Regions from separate parts of the Homo sapiens genome. Here region 2 is linked to region 1. Evidence: promoter capture Hi-C in 16 types of primary human blood cells and fetal thymus (Javierre and others, 2016). All regions are on one chromosome and are shown on one strand. The core of a region is centred on a gene start or on the middle of the fragment in contact, and the rest is flanking DNA. Distances in the headings are between cores, read along the strand shown.

Region 1 (4,517 bases), core at 2,016-4,515:
AAAAAAGGCCCCCTCTTTGTTGGTTCCTTCCTCTTTGCTTTAAAGTGGCTTCAGGCTTTGTCAACAACCTCTGTTTGACCCTTCTAACTAATTTAATTAAAATTGTACTTCGTTCCTTTTTATTTCCAAACCTCTTCAATCTGTGGTCTCTTGTCTCCGTTTTCTCACAATACAGTTCCTCCTCAATTCCCCATAATCTTGTTTCTATCCTCACCACTTATTGAAACCAAACAATTATTGGTCTCCAGTGAACTCCTTGACACGTCCAAAGAAAGTCTCTTTGGCCCTCATTTTCTTGTCCTATTTTCAGCATTTGATACTGCTAACCTCCCCTGCATATTCCTTCTTTATCTTTCGTTTTCATTGACTGCAAATGATTTTCAGTGCAGGAAAGTACATGGAATAACAGAACCAATATATGTACCCACCACCCAGTTCTATCAAATCTTGCAACATCACTTTTCAGATTCTGTTTTGAGAAATAAATATTAGATATATTTGATATTCTCTGTATGCCTCCCCCGAGTGTCAATCCTCTCCCTCTCTTAAATTTGGTGATCATGCCCTTTCATGTTTTATATACTATTACAGTACTACTCATCTATGTAGCCATAAGCAATAGATGATATTTTCAGACTTTATATACACAGTATACTGTACATGTTTTGCAATTTGCTTTTCACTCAACATTATATTTTTGAAATTTAGCTGTTACTACCCATAGCTCAAATTCATTCATCGAGAACACCATTATTTATTCATTCACCTGCTGACATTTACTTGGCTTCCATTTTTGAGATTACAAATAATACTGCAATGAACATTCTTTTATATGTCTCTTTGTGCATATAAAAGGTAGAGTTTTGCCAGTGTCTATATCTAGAAATAGAATTTCTAGATTGAGGGGTATTGCCTTTATTAGACATCGTCAAATTGTTCTTCATAGCAGTTCTACCAACTTAAACTCCTTCTAGCCGTAAATCAGAGTTCCACTGCTAGAACTTCAACAACACTTGGGGTTGTCTGACTTTTTAAATTTTCACAAAACCGATGGTTGTGAAATGGTATCTCGTGGTTTTACTTTTCAATTTCCCTGAATAGTAATAAAGTTAGGCATCTTTTCATGTCTTTATTGGCCATCTGGGTTTCCTTGACTATGAATTACTTACTCAGATATTTTGTCAATTTTTCTATTAGGTTTCTTTCTTATTTATAGGAGTTCTTATATATCCTGGATACCAAGTCATTCATTCATTTAATCAATATTTTTCTAGCACCTACTTGGCTCCAAGAATGGTTCTAGGCACTGAGAATGCAGCTATGATCAAAACAGACAAAATCCTTGCACTCATGGAACTCAACATTCTAGCGGGTGAAGGTAAATGACCAATAATATTGATAAATAAAACAGAAGTGGTAGATAGTGATACATAAGCAGGGAAGAGGGATAGGGAACATGTATGTGTGGTGATGGAGAAGGGGATTGTTGAATTACAATTTTCAATAAAGTGGTCTAGGAAGGCTTCAGTGAGAAAGTGACATTTGAGCAAAGACCTGAAGGAGGTGAGAGTGCATGCAGAGTGAACAGCAAGTGTAAAGGCCCTGAGGTAAGAGTGTGCCTGGCAAGTCCTAGCAACAACAAGGAGTCAGTGTGACTAAGCAAAGCTAGTTAGGGAGAGTGGTGGGAAATGGTGGGAGATGTCCGAAAGGTGATGACAGCTTGTCTTTTTTTTTTTTTTTTTTTTTTGAGACAAGGTCTTGCTCTGTCACCCAGGCTGGAGTGCAGTGGCGCCATCACAGCTCACTGTAGATGTGACCTCGCTGGCTCAAGGGGATGCTCCCACCTCAGCCTCCTGAGTAGCTGGGACTGCAAGCACTTGCCACCACATCCAGCTAATTTTTATAGTTTTTGTAGAGACAGGGTTTTGCCACGTTTCCCAGGCTGGTCTTGAACTCCTGGGCTCAAGTGATCCTACCACCTCGGCCTCCCAAAGTGCTGGGATTACAGGCATGAGCCACTGTGCAGGCCAGTTTGTCTTTTAACTTGTTTATATTGTCTTAAAGTACATACATTTTGAAATTTCATGTAGCTAAATGTCTTATTCTCATTCCATATTCCAAGCTCATACTCAATTTTTTTTTCTGAAAGTTATAAAGTTTTGCTTTTCACATTTAGATCTTTAATCCACCTGGAACTGATTTTTCTTCCATGGTTTGAGGTAGGGGTCTAATTTTTATAATTTTCCATATGGATAAGCAGTAGTCCTAGTACCACTTAGTGGATAATCCATTCTTTCCCCACTGATTTGAAATGTCCCACACGCTGCATATCAACCTTCCGTATATGTGTGGTCTGTTTGAGGGGTTTATATTGTGTTTCATTGATTGTCTATCTCCACAGCATACTTTTAATTACTACAGATTTACAGTCACTCTTGATATCTAGTGTATTATAGATTCTGGAGCAAATGAATAACACGATCGAAAAATTACTTTGGGAAAAATATTTTTATGGCTGTCAACAGAGTAAACATGTCAAAGGAAAGAGTAAACCCAACAGGATTTATTTAAAGAAAAGTGCAATAACCCAGATAGGCTATCACAAGGGCTTACAATAAAGTTATGGCAGTGTGAATGGAGAGAAAATAAGGAATCTAAAAGTAATTCCACGTAAAATATTAACAGGGTGTGTTGACTGATTGGATATAGAGATGAGGAGGGGGAAGACGATATATGGCTTTCCAGTGAAATGATAATGAGTTAGTTTTGTGACGCAGTGATGTGTTAACAATGGACTCTATTAGGTAAGAGGTCTGGGCCAGGGATATATATTTGGACATTGTCTAGTTAGAGGTGAACTGGAGGGGACGCAGAGGAGGAGCAAAGGTCTGGGCTTTGGGGAATTCTCCGATTTAGGGCGTGGAAGAAAGAAGAGGAAAGGAAATGGTAGGATAACCAACACGGGACATTATAACCTTAAGAAATATATATATATATATATATGTATTTTTTTACTGAATGATGTGGGTCGTATTGACACAACAGGTTTGAGATCTCCCATAGGTATGACTGTGTTTTGTTTCTGTGGCCTTCAAAGTCCTCAGAACAATTTTGATGTCACAGGTGGCATTTAAAACCCATTCCTTGCTGGACCTGGTAGAGACGCCCCCAGTCCGTCAGGTCTCTCGCTGCAGTTCCGCAGTTTGACCGCAGGGGACGGAATCTGCGGCGGCCTGGAAAACTGGCGGGGGCGCGAGGCGCCGCTCTCTCTTGGGTCAGATTCTCAGCTCCCAGCTCCCCGCTCCCGGCTCCCGGCGCCCGGCGCCCGGCGCGGAGCTGTTCCTCAAACGACACGCAGCCGAGGTGGGTGGGTGTGGGGACGCGGGAGCCAGTGTCGTCGGATCGGCCCGCAGTCCGCTGTCCTGCTGAGCCCGGAGGCCGCCTGGATGGAGCCGCCGCTCCCGGTCGGAGCCCAGCCGCTTGCCGTATCCGCCGGAGAGAAGGGAGAGGGGAGGCCGCGCAGGGCCGGGGGTGGGGGTCGGGGGCCCTGCGGAACACGGTGGGGCGGGGCAACCGGGTGGCCCAGAGGCCGAGCAGAGAGGGGGAGGGGGCCGGCGCGGGAGACGAAGCAGGGCGGGGCGGGGCGGGGGAGGGCGGCGGTGGGGGGGGGGTGGAAGACCCCCTTCGCCCCGCAGTGCACCACTCCTCCCCACCGCGCTTCCGAAGGAGACCCTTGACTAGCGCCCGCATACTGTCGAGGGTATGGAGATGAAGGGTCCTCTCCGGGAGCCCTGCGCCCTGACCCTAGCCCAGAGGAACGGGCAATATGAGTAAGTAACCACCTGATTCCCACAGAGGAGGGGAGCCTGCCATTACCTCCCAACCCCAAACCGCGACGGGTCACCCACTGTCCTCCTACTGAAGCCACGCGGGCAACAGGTTCAGGTCCAGGTGTGAAGTGCCAGTGCTCTCTAACCTCGGGGCTTTGTCCCCAACTTCCAAGCCTCTGGATTGTGCTTGGCAGTGTGGCTCAGTGGAAGGACTGAATGGGCGGGGAAGCAGGAAGCCTGGGTTCTTAGTTCCTGCCCCTGCAACTGACATGTGTTGTGTAACGTTGGGCAAGTCAATAAAGCTTTCTGGGCCAAAGTTAACTCTTCAGTTTAATAAAACCATTAACTGCCTTACCTTACAGCCTTTGGAATTATAACTGGGGGAAAAATAAATGCGAGAGTGGCTTCCAAAAAGTAAAAGTGCTATGGAAATGCTTCATTGTTAACGTTACAGACTTGTCTTAACCCTATTCAGCTGGTTTCTCCAGTCTCCCCGTCCCCTTATCCCACTGGGTTGAAGGCATATTCATTAATTCAGTAATGGTTTAGTGTAGGCCAGAAACTGCCTCACTTACTGACTTTACTGTTAGAAAGAAAAGGTAATGAAATGTGTAGAGATAGAAATGACAGTATTTTATCAGTGTGTCACCTTCCTCTCTGCCATAGGAGCTCCGTAAATACTGTTGA
Region 2 (4,368 bases), core at 1,820-4,319, 660 kb after region 1:
GTAACATCAGCATTGTTTATTCATTGTCTACTCTGTCACGCCAGAGCCAAACGTTATACATATATAATATACAGATGGTCCTCGAGTTACAATGGTTTGACTTATGAGTTTTTTTTTTTTTTTTTTTTTTGAGATGGAGTCGTGCTCTGTTGCCCAGGCTGGAGTGCAGTGGCGCCACCTCGGCTCACTGTAACCTCCGCCTCCCAGGTTCAAGCAATTCTCCAGCCTCAGCCTCACAAGAAGCTGGGATTACAGGCACACGCCACCATGCCCAGCTAATTTTTGTATTTTTTTTTTTTAGTAGAGACAGGGTTTCACCATGTTGGCCAGGCTGGTCTTGAACTCCTGACCTTGTGATCCTCCCGCCTTGGCCTCCCAAAGTGCTGAGATTACAGGCATGAGCCACCGTGCCCGGCCAGACTTATGACTTTTGTTGTTGTTGTTGAGACAGAGTCTTTCTCCCTCGCCCAGGCTGGAGTGCAGGGGCACCATCTTGGCTTACTGCAACCTCCGCCTCCTGGGCTCAGGTGATCCTCCCACCTCAGCCTCCAGAGTAGCTGGGACTACAGGCGTGCACCACCACACCCGACTAATTTTTGTATTTTTAGTACAGACGGGATTTCCCCATGTTGGTCAGGCTGGTCTTGAACTCCTGGGCTCAGATGATTTGCCTGCCTCTGCCTCCCAAAGTGCTGGGATTATAGGCATGAGCCACCACGTCCAGCCAACTTATGATTTTTTGACTCTACAATGCTGTGAAAGGGATACACACACCTTCAGTAGAAACTGTACTTCAATTTTTTTTTCTGGGCTAGCAATATGCATTAGGAGATTCTCTCGTGATGCTGGGCAGTGGCAGCGAGCCACAGCTCTCAGGCAGCCATGAGATCACAAGGGGTAAACAACCAAAAACACATTGTACTGTGTTGCCAGTAGAGTTTGCCCAACTGTAGGCTAATGTAAGTGTTCTGAGCACATTCGAGGTAGGCTAGGCTAAGCTACGATGTTAGGTAAGTTAGGTGTGTTAAATGCATTTTCAAGTTATGATATTTTCAATTTAGGATGGGTATGTCATAATGCAACCCCATTGTAAGTTGAGGAGCGTTTGTGTATATATATTCCTTACAACTTTGCAAGAATATCACCATTACATGCCTCTCACTGATGAGGAAGCTGAGACTGAACAAGTTCAGGTAATTTACTCAAGGCTACACAGCTGTTCAGATACAAAACCAGGATTGAAACCTAGGACTGTTATTTCGAGGCTACACTCTCTTCAGCAGCCCCCCCAGCCACCGAATATCACAGTGGTATGGACAAACAGATATTTTTCAGTGTGGAGGATTAGAAACAGTAGAAGTCATGCACAGCAGCCTCTCCAAGTTTGTTGATGATATTAAGCTTTTTCAGGTGGTCAAATACCAAACTGACAAGAATCAAACTGCAGAAGGGTTTCAAAATCAGAGAAGAGAGGTATATGAGTATGAGCATGAGGTGAACTATGGTGTGGCCAAGTATAAGGTAGCATAATATAGGGGAAATATCTTAATACTATTAGATTGGTGCAAAAGTAATTGCGGTTTTTGCCATTGAAAGTAATGGGAAAAACCGTGATTACTTTGGCACTAACCTAATATTTATAAATGACAATTACGACTAAAGTGAACCCAGGAGCATTGATAGACATTCCTTAAAAATATTAGTCTGGTGAGCTTGAGAAACCAAGAAATATAATGGTATGCTTATCTTTAGTACTATGTGCTTCAACAGTGACCCTCAAGAAAGCCACTGGGTTAGGAAAAGAGAGTTAATAGTCATTGATTGTGAAGGTGGTGTGAGGAGGCTGGAATGAAAAACTGGGTGAAGATTCGAACTATTTCTATCTGAATAAAATTAAGACAAATAAAATCAGGAAAGGTAGTCACAATGTAGCAATAATCGTAACAATGTTGGATTGCATTCCTGTGTGCCAATCACTGTTCTAAGTGGGATATACATATACTGTATTAACTCAATTAATTCCCTCAATTCTGAGTAGATGCTGTTACATGCAATTTACAAATAAGGAAAATGAGACACAGAGCCTAAAGTCACACACACAAATCTAATCACTGGTAGGGGAGGAATTCCAACCTAGGCAGTCTGCTGCAGAGCCTGGGCTCTAACCACTCCACTGCACTGCACCTGTAAGGGTGCAGAGAGGGTTTACTGCAGAGTCAGGTATTGAATCTTGGACCTTGTAATCCTAGTATTAAGACACTCTCTTGAAGCTGTTTAAACAGGAAGTAAGACTTTACAGAGTAAGAAACTCGTTAATGGATAATAGGCTGAAAATAGTAATAGTTCCAAGAAAAGTAGGTAGATTAATAAGCCAAGCATGAGTTACAGAGAAGCTAGATACGATTAAGTCTGAAACTTCTCGAGTTTGAAATCATGTAAAGTGACTGTCCGTTATGTATTCCTTAGATTTTATGAACACAATGACCATACTATTTTTCCTGATATAATTTCCAAAAATATGAAAATGATTTTTTGAGAGCCTTGCTCTGCCACCCTTGAGTGCAGTGTGTGGGTTTATTTCTGGACTCTCATTCTATTCCACTTCTCTTTTTCTACCCTGTGGCAGGACCACACTGTTCTGATTACTTTAGCTTTGTGCCAAGTGTTTTTTCTTTTTTTTGATGGAGTCTCACTCTGTCACCCAGGCTGGAGTGCAGTGGTGCGACCTTGGCTCACTGCAACCTCCGCCTCCCGGGTTCAAGTGATTCTCCTGCCTCAGCCTCCCAAGGAGCTGGGATTACAAGCGTGTGCCACCACACCAGGCTAATTTTTGTATTTTTTGGTAGAGACAGGTTTTCGCCATGTTGGCCAGGCTGGTCTCAAACTCCTGGCCTCATGATCCACCCGCCGCGGCCTCCCAAAGTGCTGGAATTACATGCATGAGCTGCCACGCCTGACATGAAAATGATTATTGCTAGCCTCGTTACATGTTCCACCTTACAAGTGGTTCATGAACACCCTCAATAGTGTCTGTTGTTGTTCCCTTGTGTTCATGAGTTCTCATTTTTAGCTCTGAGAACATGTGGTATTTGGTTTTCTGTTCCTGCGTGGATATTTCATATAAACGGAATCACACAACATATGACCTTTTATGACTGTTTTCTTTCACTTAACATAATGTTTAAGAGGTCCATACACACTGTAGCAAGTATCAGCACTTTGTTCTTTTTTGTGGCTGAAAAATATTCCGTTGTATGGACACACCATAACTTTTGAGACAGAGTCTTGCTTTGTCACCCAGGCTGGAGTGCAGTGGTGTGATCTCAGCTCACTGCAACCTCTGCCTCCCAGGTTCAAGTGATTCTTGTGCCTCAGCCTCCCCAGTAGCTGGGACTTCAGGCACCCACCACCACACCCAGCTAATTTTTGTATTTTTAGTAGTGACGGCGTTTTGCCATGTTGCACAGGCTGGTCTCAAACTCCTGATCTCAGGTGATCCACCTGCCTCGGCCTCCCAAAGTGCTGGAATTACAGGGATGAACCACCGCGCCCGGCAACACACCATAATTTATTTATCCCTTTATCTGTGGGTGACATTTAGGCAATTTCTATCTTTTGGCTATTGTGAATAGTGCTGCTATGAACATGCATATACAAGTATCTGAGTCTCTGCTTTGGATTCTTTGGAGTGAAACTGCCGGGTCATATGGTAATTCTACACTTAACCTTTTTGAGGAACTGCCAAACTGTTTTTCATAGTGGCTGGACCATTTTACACTGCCACCAGCAATACATGAGGGTTCCAATTTCTGCCTCAGGGCTTTTGCACTTGTTTCCCCTCTCTAGAAAGCTCCTCTGACAGATACCCAGGTGGCTCACTTCCTCACCTCCTTCAGGTCTTTACTCAAATGCCATCTTCTCAAGGAGGCCCAACTTGACCATCAAATTTAAAACGGCAACCTCTCAACCACCAACCTGTATGTTGCTATCTCCCTTATTTTCCTCCGTAGACTTCATCACCATTAACATACTATACGTTATTTACTTTCTATTGTCTGTCTCCCAACACAGAAATTTAAGTCCCATGAAGGCAGAGATTTCAGTTTGTATTTCCAACAACTACAACAGTGCCAGGCACATAGTAGGTAATATTTACCGAATAAATGAGACTGAGAGGCTGGGCGCAGTGGCTCAAGCCTGTAATCCCAGCACTTTGGGAGACCGACGCGGGCGGATCACAAGGTCAGGAGATCGAGACCATCCTGGTGAAACCCAGTCTCTACTAAAAATACAAAAAATTAGCTGGGCGTGGTGGCAGGCGCCTGTAGTCCCAGCTACTCGGGAGGCTGAGGCAGAATGGTGTGAACC

Evidence for each region. The method cuts DNA at HindIII sites, captures the fragments that hold promoters and counts their contacts. A CHiCAGO score of 5 or more calls a contact.
Region 2: a fragment that was not itself captured here is called in contact with the fragment with the promoter of OCRL in region 1 in 6 of 17 cell types (M1 macrophages, M0 macrophages, monocytes and 3 more); the score reaches 6.6 in M1 macrophages.

Annotation. Positions count from the first base shown.
Region 1 is chrX:129,536,994-129,541,510 of GRCh38, forward strand. OCRL (OCRL inositol polyphosphate-5-phosphatase) reads left to right here and starts at 3,266. Exons shown (of 24, transcript NM_000276.4): 1 at 3,266-3,485; 2 at 3,751-3,830. The coding sequence starts at 3,447. RefSeq lists an enhancer at 3,099-3,393 and silencers at 3,110-3,169, 3,280-3,479. The HindIII fragment of the contact is 8,325 bases long and covers 1-4,130 here.
Region 2 is chrX:130,196,781-130,201,148 of GRCh38, forward strand. No RefSeq gene overlaps it. Among named protein-coding and RNA genes, the nearest start is that of RAB33A, 27 kb to the left of the region's middle. The HindIII fragment of the contact is 3,341 bases long and covers 1,400-4,368 here.